Regions from separate parts of the Homo sapiens genome. Here all the other regions are linked to region 2. Evidence: promoter capture Hi-C in 16 types of primary human blood cells and fetal thymus (Javierre and others, 2016). All regions are on one chromosome and are shown on one strand. Each heading gives the region's core, a stretch centred on a gene start or on the middle of the fragment in contact. The rest is flanking DNA. Distances are from core to core; before and after follow the strand shown. Region 1 has its middle 6.5 kb from the start of GLIPR1. Region 2 holds the start of GLIPR1L2 (GLIPR1 like 2). Region 3 overlaps GLIPR1 (GLI pathogenesis related 1).

Region 1 (3,608 bases), core at 1,109-3,608, 83 kb before region 2:
TTTTTTTTTTTTTTTTTTTTTTTTTTTGAGACAGAGTCTCCCTCTGTCACCAGGCTGGAGTGCAGTGGCGCGATCTCAGCTGGCTGCAACCTCCGTCTCCCGGGTTCAAGTGATTCTCCTGCCTCAGCCTCCCAAGTAGCTGGGACTACAGGCACATGCCACCACACCCAGCTAATTTTTTTGTATTTTTAGTGGAAATGGGGTTTCACCATGTTGGCCAGGATGGTCTCCATCTCTTGACTGCCTCCCAAAGTGCTGGGATTACAGGCGTGAGCCACTGCGCCTAGCCCTTTCCCTCATAAATTACCCAGTCCTGGGTATGTCTTTATCAGCAGGATGAAAATGGACTAGTACACATACATACAGTTGAGGCTACGTTTAACCTAGAACACTTTCATATTTATAGCATTACATTTTGACAAGAGAATAAAATCAAGTTAGGAAAAAATATACCTTGACACTGTAAGTATTATTGCTATAGATCAATAATGGATTTTTGATATAAACTACTCACAATGGTGTTACATTTGTTTCTTGACGGGTTCTTTACCTTGTGACTTTTTATACACTGCATTTGGTATTCATTTGAATAGTCTAAATAAATAACTTATTTTCCTATTAGAAATAGATGTATTTAATGACCCATAAATGATGTTTTATAATTAGTTTTTAAACAGTTTTAGATATTCAGATGAAAAATGTTGGGCAAATGCCACTTGATATTCAAGGTTAATTCTTATACAATGACACTGGAGCAGAGCAATGCTCCTACTAAATATACTCATTTCTTCTAAAATAATGTACAAAACAGTAATATTGGCTTTTTTAGTTATTAGACTGCAACAATTTTATGTTGTATGTTTGGACATTTTTAGCTTTATTATGTATTCCCTTTCTCTACCCAACAAAGGATCATTTTCAAAAATAATTGCCTTTTAAAAATATATAGCTTTGTAAAATTAATTTTTTACTTTAACATCTTTTGCCTAGCTTGGATGATTTTGGGTTATATGCAGTTCTCAGGACTAGGTTAATTATATTTGTATATTCAAGCATAACTATAGCTACATTGAATTCTTCTGGTTGCCAAGGATTCTGCTATGTGATATTTCCTTTCAATTTCTCAGATGTAAGAGCAGAAATAATCTATTCTTTTATACTCTTACTACTTTTCTTTTCTCAATCCCTTTCATTAGTGATAATATATACTACAACCAGATCTTTCTTCCCCAAATGGAGCCAACTGTGTCAGATTAGGATAGTAATACATACCTCACTGATTTTGCCTACAACTGCCTAACATAGGACCTCAACACCTTGTAAAATCACCCACAAAAGGTTGTCTGAGGGTTTCTTTTACATTAACTGGTGAAGAAGTCCATTTCCACCAAGAGCTTATGCTACTTTTCCAGACACTTATCTCTTGTGTGGCCACGGTTCCATGGGTTTCTATTAGGGGTGCCTCAAGAAGTCAGTCCATAGGGTCAGCCCCAAGGCAGTGCTACATGCTCAGACGCCCTTTAGTTTTTACTTACATCTTCCCTGATTGCCTATCTACAGAATTTGGGTTAGGAGATAAATTCGAGTGATGGTATCCATGCTGTTCAGAATCTTCCTTCTCTGTCAAGGGCTAAAGAATTTTCTATTGGGTCAATTTCAGCACAACTTTCTTCCTAGGAGGCTCCTTCATTTACATGAAAATAGGACTTTGATTAGGCAAGCCCAGATATGCCCAAAATTGTACCCAACAGGAAATCCCTGCCCACTATCCCACTAGTTGCCAGCTATTATGCAAGGCATTTTCCATATTTCTATTTCCAGCCTTGAGCTCACCTCATGCACTCAACTGCTACCTGTCACGTCTGCCCCAAGGTCTTCCTCATCTCAGTACATTGTCATCAAAATATCTTCCAAATTCTCAAGTCTAAATCTTGGGATTATTCCTGCATTTTCTTTCTCTCACTCCTCAAATGTAGGCAATTAGCAAATCCTATTATGTCTATCTTTGAAATGTATCCAGAATTCGACTATTTCTCATCGCTCCACCTTCTACCAACCTGGCTTTACTTCTTGCCTGGATTATTACAATAGCTTCTAAGTACTATCCTTGCTTCCTTCCTTGCCCTTTACATATATGCTCCTCTGGCAGTCAGAATTATCCTCTTACAATATAAGTCAGCTATGTCACTCCTCTGCTCGGAGCTCTCTAAGACTTTGATCTGGAGATGAGCAACATGAAGAAACAGCCTCTGCATGAAGCTTCTATTTTTGACAGATAGTTGACAACAGACATGTACAGCTTTTGGGGGTAGTAGTTTAAGAGGTGGTAGTTTTCTAGAAGAGCAGGTAGCCAGAAGTTTTAGAAAAGTTCTGTTGCTGACATTTATTACTCAATAGCAGCAACAGTGATGATTTTCTTTACAGCAGACTTGGTGGGCATTGCCCTAGGAAGCTTAGCCTAGAGACTGTTCTCAGCCGCCTTAATCATTCTGTCAGCTACCTAATTGCTTTTAATAAATATCATTTCCACTTTAGTGGCTTCTTTTCTTTGCAACTAAGAATCCTGACTTTTTGGGGATAAAGGAAACAAAAATTATCAATACATCTCAGAAGACTCCCTCTCAACATTTTCATGTGCCTCTATCAATCTTTTATACATATTCTCATATATATATTTGAAATATATAATACACACATAGAAATTTTGTTTGTTAATCGAGGGCATAATTTCATGCAATCCTGTATCTTGCTTTTTGTATTTATTATTTCATAAGCATGTTTTTGGTTATTATAATCTTTCATAAACATTTTAAGGACTATACAATGTTTTTGCAAATGAATGCATAATTTACATAACACATTATTGTTGAATATTCAGATCTGTTTCAATTATTCCTTATTTTAATAATGCTGTGGATATCTTTATATATTCTATATTTAGTAAGATTGATTCCTAGAATTAGAATAAGTGAATAGGATATGAGTGTTTTAAAGATTTCAAATGTAGAGTATCCAGTTACTCTCTTGGAACTTGTACTAATTTATACTTTCATCATCAGCATATGGGCACTGAGACCATATATTAAACATTGGAACTATATGTATACATGTATCTGGTTGTACATATTATTAAAGAGAACCAGAGCCAGACACTAAAGTGGTAAAGATATATTTTATTTTAAAAAATTGCAAAAAGGAAAAAAAGGCCTTAGTATAGAATTGGGCTCAATTCTGAGTACGATAAAGACACTTGGGGATTTATAGCCAAGGAGCAGAGTCTGGATGGAAAAATCACTAAGAAGAGACATCAAGGATGAGGGGATTCTTGTTAAACTCATCTAACAGGGTTCTTGCTGCGGTCAGGCCAGGATGATCAGAAAAGAATGGGAAATATTTCCTCTAAATTGACTTAACAGGATTCTTGCTAAAACCAGGCTATGCAGGTCTGGGAATGATGAGGGCCAAGATCAAGCCCCAGTTGAGAAGAGGGCTTAGAGGAGCCTGACTGAAGTCTGGTCAAAGAAGGCATGTTGTTAATTCATATATTTAAGTACTTATATTTTCTCTCCCTTTGCATGCTAGATTTTACTTTATCACTTCCTTACTTT
Region 2 (3,460 bases), core at 831-3,330:
CACGGCAATAGCATGAATAAGGATGGAAAGTATTCAGAATTTGTGTTCTAAGATCTTATTAATATTTGGGTGGAGTTTACAGGTATTAACTTTTGGAATTTATAAAAAGTACATACATTAAAATACTAAAAATAACCAATAAAAGAGTTTAAATAAGCTGAGTGATGTCCAAATCTGCTAAAGAAACATTTTAAATAGGCCATACTATTATGATAGACTATACTATTTACAGTTAATATTTATGTCCTAATAAAATACATGGGAAAAATATACATTAACTTCAAGAAAGAAGAAAAAGGTAAAAATTTAGGGTGGGACTTTAACCTATATATCAAATACTATTCCTTTAAAAATGTCTATATTTAAAAATATCGATTGTGGGTATACAGGTATATTATTTTATATACCTTATGTTTGAAATACTATATAATTTTTAGAGATGAGATAGAAAACCTATGAAAAGTTGTATTAGAAAGTATTATGTGTTTATTAATTTTCAGGAGTAAGGATAATCTTCAAATTGGGAAGAAACAGAATTAGTCACAAAAAATGGGAAATTAGTTGAAACTCCCAAATATCCCCAAACTCTATAATTGAATTCAAAAGAAAAAGAATTGGCTTAGAAAAAAGTATCTTCAGCAGATAGAACCAAATGCTAGCATAGTTCTATAAGACAGCATATAATCTGACATGGAAATGCTGACAATATAAAAGGTAAAGGAAATGACGAAGAAAGAACTCAAGTATGTCCTATCAAAATAGTATTTTAAAATCAACATTAAAACAAATGACCATTTTTGTAATTTATTCATTTAGCAAGTAATTGAACATGTCCAAATCAGTGAGGATGTGGTGAAAACAGAACAGCTGGTATTTGCTAAATTTGGCACTACCCTTTAGCATAGCAATTGCTATGTGTTAAATTAATAAAAAATATCATACCCTTAATTTATTTATCCCATTTCTGAAATTTGTGCTAAGAACTAATGCTGAAGGAAGAAAAGACATGTCTAGGAAAGTAGTCCTTGCAATATAATTTATAAGTTTGAAGCTTCTAATTCCCTAAGAGGACAGTTATTTATTTGCCGGATTTTCAGTCATTTTAATGACAGTCAGGAAAACTCAATAGCAACCAGGGAATAGTTGAGTTGTTAAATGACTATAGGGTGTAAAAGAGGGGGAAAGCAAGAACCGCATTGTAAGGTAAGGCAAAATCAGGGTCAAGACTAGGGTGAGGAAACTGAGACACTTCCTTAGGAGCCAAATTTGGAATGGGCACAAAAAAAAAAAATCAAGATAACAAACATTTTTAAAAGGCAAAGCTAATGTGACATCGATGATGGAAAAAGCTAAAAATAAAAATTTCAAATACAAACAGAATCTCATCTTGATTTGCACCACCCTGAGAGTGTCGCACTTGTTTTTCCCTAATCCAGACCCAAGGAACCTGTCTTTGTTAAATTTTTTAACATTTTCTTTACCCTTGATATTGATATTTTTGCACTGATTTTTAATTTTTAAAAACCCGTTGCATTAAAATATCATTTTCTTGAATTGGCGCCCCCTTAAAATCTGCACTTCAGGCCAGTGCCTCCATCACCTTAGTCCTGGCCCTGTGTAATATCATGGTAATAAGCATGTGTTAGAGTGTCCGCAGTTTTTCTCTGTGTAAACTTCACGTGTACTTTAAAAACCAAGCTAAAAGTGCGGTTCTCCGCGATCCTTCAGCCTCAGAGCAGTGGCCCCAACTACCCGAGATCCAGGGAGGCGTTGTGGCAACGGTAGTGGAAGGGTCGGCAAACCGCCTTCCGGCCTCACCATGAAGCGCAAGTTAGACCCTCGGGGAATGACGTCGCCCCGCAGCTCATTGTGGAGGTTCACGTACTCGTTGATAAAGTCTACGTCCTCCTCGTCTGGCAAAAATCTGGCGTTCAAACTAGAACCCAGTAGCAGTAGCCACAGCTCACAGAGCCGCAGCTTCAAAACGCCCCCTACTGCCAGGGGTAGGGACTGGGCCCTCCACTCCCGGGCGAAGGGCCTTGCGGCCTCCATGGTCCACCGGCCGCTGACAGGCCAGTGCGCACGCGCTGGCCGTCCCAGTGACCTGCCAATCTACGGAGGACGCAAGCAAGCCTTGTCCCGCCTCCCGGAAGGAGAAAGGGAGGAGGGAGGAGGGAAAAACAAAGGAGGGAGGAGGGGGTAAGGAGGAGGGAGGAGAGAAGAGGGAGGGGAGAGTGGGTAGGGGAGGGGGAGAGGAGGGGAAAGCTAGACCTGCAGAGTGAAGAAAGCTGGTAATAGATGTCTGACAAACTAAAGAAAGACTTGTGTTACGTGAGTAAGCCCTTTTCACTAAACTAATGTAGTGAAATGTTATCCCGAATTGATTTCTGACACTGAATGATATGTCGTTATTAATGAGTCATCAGTTTGTATGGTAAATGCCAATTGCTGAGTAACAGGTCTGAGGAACCTTCTAATTGTGCCAGGTGAAATGATTTTTCTGCGATACAGATACAAATTCAATTAAATTTTTTTTCCCCATTACCTGTTGAGTTGGAAATTTGGTGCAGGGCCTGCCTTTTATTTTCCTCAGGGACAGAATGGAATACAGAAATATTGCTAGTTCTTAAGGCCAAAGAAGTTCTTAAGGCCAACTTAATTGATGAGATTTTTTTCAGTTTTTAAATGAACCTTTGTGGGAAACCACAAAATAAATGGGAGTGAAGGGAGAGTAGGGATCACCAAACTCTTCAAAGGTTAAAACATTTCTACTTCTTCTCTCATCAGCACAATTCAGACAGCCCGGAATATCAAGATTCATCTTTTTCACTAATTGTGGCATTCACAGTAAGAACGAACTCTTTTGTTTTCTTTTTTTGTTCCAGACAAAATTGGCTAATATCTAGCTGATTTTGGTCTGATCTGTTTACCTCCAAACATTTTCCTCAAAAACAAAACAAAACAAAACCAACTTGCTTTGAAGACTTTAAATTCTAAGCATGGAAAAAAAGCAAGTATTAGTTTTGGAATACACGTTTGCATATTACATATTGTGCTTAATAGCATTAAGCAGATATGGAAAATTGACATTGGGAGAGAATTTTACTACAAAACATTGTAACAGGTTAGCCAAACATTTATAAAAAGAAAAGTGCTTTTAAAAATTGTCTGTGATGCACACAATTGAAAAACAATAGACCTATGTAAGATGGTTTCATTTATGCCCTTGAATACTTACTACTATGACTGCATAGTAGTAAGTTTTAAGTGATTGAGAAAGATCAGTAGACAAGACACAGATCCAGCTTTCAAGCAGCTTACAATTTAGTGAATTAGCAATCAGGCAGTATTTAAAACGTGATAAATACAAAGCCAAAATTCTATTGCTTGGTACTCTTGTGGAGGAGCAGGGAAGCCTTTCTGGAAATTGTATACAGAAAGTGAAACAGACAAGTCTAAG
Region 3 (3,850 bases), core at 189-2,688, 100 kb before region 2:
TAAATTTCGTGCAGTGGAACTTGGCCGACTCTGTCCTTCCTCTATTCTAAGCACCCTACTCTAGCCCGGCTGCTCTGAGTTCAGTTTGTTACAAATATGGACACGAAAGTACCACAGGCTTTGCACAGCTTAATTGAAGTTTCCCCTTCACACCATGGTAAAAAAACATACTGGGATGGAAGGGTTTGTGTCTAGAACAAGAACAAGAAATAAACTCTTGGTCACTTACTAATATTTCAAAATCACAAAGCAGAATTTTGCTTGGATGTTTAGTAAAACATCCTTGGAAATTTAACTGCTTGCAGCTTCTACACTTCTTCATTAAATGCTGTCTGGCTAATAAAAAGTGCCATGTTGCAGCTTTATTTTATTTTCATTTTTTGGAGATAGACCCTCACTGTGTCACCCAGGCTGGAGTGCAGTGGTACAATCTCTGCTCACTGCAACCTCCACCTCCTGGGCTCAAGTGATTGTCCTGCCTCAGCCTCCTGAGTAGCTGGGGTTACGGGCGTCCACCACCACACCCAGCTAGTTTTTGTATTTTTAGTAGAGGGGGTTTTTGCCATGTTGGCCAGGCTGGGCATGGTGGCATGGTAATCTCAGCTACTTGGGAGGCTGAGGCAGGAGGATCGCCTGAACCCGTGAGATGGAGGTTGCAGTGAGCTGAGATCACACCACTGCACTCTAGCATGGGTGACAGAGCAAGACTCTGTCTCAAAAAAAAAAAACAAAAAAAAAAACGAAAACAGAATTCTGTTTGTTTGGATGACCTGTTATACTTATTTTTGATCTTGCTGAAATAAGCAAATCTTAGGAATCTTAGTCTACAGTTTCTGACAGTTTTTTTTGTTGTTGTTGTTTGACCAATTAGAACTAAATAAAAAGAACGTGATTTTCACATTTAAATTTCTCTTAAATGTATTCCTAGAACAGTAAGCCATTGGTTTAATTGCTACTTGATGCCAGTTTCCTTGAAGATAGCCGTTAAGATAAAACATGGTTTCATTGTTAATTCTGTAGAAAGTTACATGTTACTATTATGTTATTCTATTGGTGTATTGTTCCTTTTACTCACCACAGAGATTGTCCAAACACTTGTCATTATTGGGGCAGGCACTGCAGGTGGCTCCTCTCTTATATGGCCAAGTTGGGTAATTCCCTCTGTAAAGCAGAAGAAGGATGTCCATTAGAAGTTTTTCGGTTTTTTAAAATTGCAATTTACTATGAATCCTTAACTAAATCCAGAAGAATAGTGGAGTGAAGTACAAAGGTCCAGAGAGTTGGTAATAGAAGTGAAGACAGGAAGGCAGAAATGGAAGGCTGCTAATATTTGCATAGTTCATTCTATGTACCTGTGTCTATGCACCTGTTTTAATCTGCATCCCATTTAATTGTGACAGCTCTGAGAGGAAGTTATTCTTGTTTTACAGATGAGACAAAAGATGTAAGAGATACCTTTAATCACAATTTATACACTTCAGAGTCAGAGGAAACCTGGATTTAACTCCAGGGCTGTGCTCCCTCTCTTTACCTACCCTCTGGCCTATATGATTACTGCCATTTAAAAAACTGTCCATCTTAGAAAAGCTATGGTGACCCACATTCAATATTCTCAGTTGGTCAGCCCTCCATAATTTTCACTGGATAGGAGCCATTTGGCTGGTGCCTTCCAAAAAAATAATAAATAATGGTATGGGGGAATTTCTAAAGTACAAATTGTTTTCACATACAAGATGTGATATGAATAATAGCTGCTAATTAGTGAGCACTACCATGTGCTTGTCTTTGTTCTAAACAACCTTGAATGAAATAATCTTCACAAAAACCCTATGAGGAAGTTACTGTTGTCTATTTATACCCATTATATAGCTAGAGGCTGAGTCACAGAGTATAAGTAATTGACCAAGGTCACAGACTAGAAAGTGAAATAATATCCAAGCATTTTATATCCCCATAAATATCCTCATAGTAGTAATGGGGAGAGGGGGCACATTTATCTCAATGAACCTGCCATTGCACTAATTTTTTTTGGAACTCTGCTTTTGGAAAAAGTTCTAAACTTTTTTGTGTAATCGTACCCTTTGGCAGTCTGGTGAGGCCTATGGGCTCTTTCTCAACATAGTTTGTTGTTAAATGCATAAAATACATAGGATTATAAAGGAAACCAATTAAATTGAAATAGTTATCAAAATGTTTAAAACAAGATTTGTGATAAAGTAATATGTGCTTCTCTATTAAGATCTACCGGGGGCTATTAGTTTCAATGCAGTGATGAACACAAACTATATTTTGAGTTCTCTGCAGCAAGTGGAATGTGGTATGAAAATATCTGATATTTACAAAGATGATACTGCTAAGTCAGAGTCACGTTTATTGCTAATATGATGGTGGAGTGTTGTCTTCATTCATAATGAAAGGAAATGTTATTTTTAATAGAGGTTAGTGAAAATAAAAATAAAACTATTTTCTAATCAAAGTTTATGGTCCTCCTCTCCCCAGCACTCTACAATTACCTCCAAAGTTGAGAACTCTCACCTTAGACACACAACTTTATAACGATACCTTATTTCCAACCCCAAATCTATGTTCTTATCTCATTTTGCTCCAAATTTTAAGTTGCTTCAGAAATTTAATTAGCCCTCTGCTTACTCTACACCATGGAAAAAAGGTAATATAGTAGAAATTCTGATAGCAATTTCAAAAGATGTCCAAAATAGACATTAATCATTGGAATGTCTTTCATTGTTAATAAGCACAGTATTAAGTGGTTTAAGTTCTAGAATGATTTTAATAAAGTCATTTATGATACTTAGTTGTGCATTCCAAACTGTAAAGGAAAAGGTAAAAAATGCTACTTAAAAATAAGCTAAAAACCAAGACAGTCGGTGAGGTCTGTGGAAATGGTAGTATTCATCTTGGGAGAAACATGCTACTGGAAAGGCCTGGATTTGTCTAGATGGGAGTCATTAAGACTGTGGGACCTAAAGTATTCAGCACAATAAAGCAACAGGACATTTCAATGTTTTCCCTGGTAGCCTGAGAGAGAAGAGGGTTGGGGTTATGGGACCCAGGGGAAGACCGAAGACAAATCTTTAAAGAAAAAGATAAATATGGGTAAGGGTCCCTAAGGCAGTGACGGCCTAAGCACACTGGTACTATCTTGACTATCTTGTGGTCAAAGTTATTTCCTCTTCTGTGCTATAATCCTCTCCTCCACTAATCCACTCTGAGTAAAGATCTGTTACACACCATACCCTTGTTCATGGTGCCCAGGGGAAATGAAGAGGAGAGTATTACAGGCAACTGGAAGATTAAGCATCCCAGACCCCATTCTGAGGTATCAGAAATATTGAGGAGGATACTGGACTTCCTAAGATTATGTGGAATGGGGGCCTACAACTTTTTGTGTATAGGAAAATAATACCTCAGAGGGCAGAGGGCAAAGGGAAATGAGGACATTCCTAACTGGTCTCTCTGTTTTACCTTTTATGCTCCTCTAATCCATTTTCCATCCAGACTGATGTCCAAATTTAAAGGTCTCATCGCTCCCCTGCTTAATATACTTGAATGACTTCTTATGTAAACTTTGTCATGATCTAAAAGTTCCCGCTAGATCTGCAACTGCCTTCCTCCCCCCGTTTCATCTGTTTAGCAGACCGAGGGCACCAGTCTCTGTGGTTTAAACTTGCCAAACTTTTCTTCACGGAAGTTTTGCTGTTCTTTTCTCCACTAGACAGCTGTTCCAGAAGTTCTTATGTCTGATTCCTTCTCATTCTTCATGCCTAAGCTTAAATATAACACAAGAAGCCCTTCCCTGATTATTCTAAACAGGGGCCTTGCCTATTGATAG

What was found. The method cuts DNA at HindIII sites, captures the fragments that hold promoters and counts their contacts. A CHiCAGO score of 5 or more calls a contact.
Region 1: a fragment that was not itself captured here is called in contact with the fragment with the promoter of GLIPR1L2 in region 2 in 8 of 17 cell types (naive B cells, total B cells, naive CD8 T cells and 5 more); the score reaches 11.4 in naive B cells.
Region 3: a fragment that was not itself captured here is called in contact with the fragment with the promoter of GLIPR1L2 in region 2 in 6 of 17 cell types (neutrophils, naive B cells, non-activated CD4 T cells and 3 more); the score reaches 7.4 in neutrophils.

The regions. Positions count from the first base shown.
Region 1 is chr12:75,472,460-75,476,067 of GRCh38, reverse strand. No RefSeq gene overlaps it. Among named protein-coding and RNA genes, the nearest start is that of GLIPR1, 6.5 kb to the left of the region's middle. The HindIII fragment of the contact is 193 bases long and covers 2,262-2,454 here.
Region 2 is chr12:75,389,709-75,393,168 of GRCh38, reverse strand. GLIPR1L2 (GLIPR1 like 2) reads right to left here and starts at 2,080. Exons shown (of 6, transcript NM_001270396.2): 1 at 1,819-2,080. The coding sequence starts at 2,052. It also overlaps a transcript of CAPS2 not described here. RefSeq lists an enhancer at 2,019-2,148 and a silencer at 2,106-2,278. The HindIII fragment of the contact is 6,589 bases long and covers 1,054-3,460 here.
Region 3 is chr12:75,492,888-75,496,737 of GRCh38, reverse strand. It overlaps GLIPR1 (GLI pathogenesis related 1), which reads right to left. Exons shown (of 6, transcript NM_006851.3): 4 at 1,076-1,161. It overlaps KRR1 (KRR1 small subunit processome component), which reads left to right. Exons shown (of 10, transcript NM_007043.7): 10 at 1-3,850. Among named protein-coding and RNA genes, the nearest start is that of GLIPR1-AS1, 5.0 kb to the right of the region's middle. The HindIII fragment of the contact is 4,702 bases long and covers 1-3,789 here.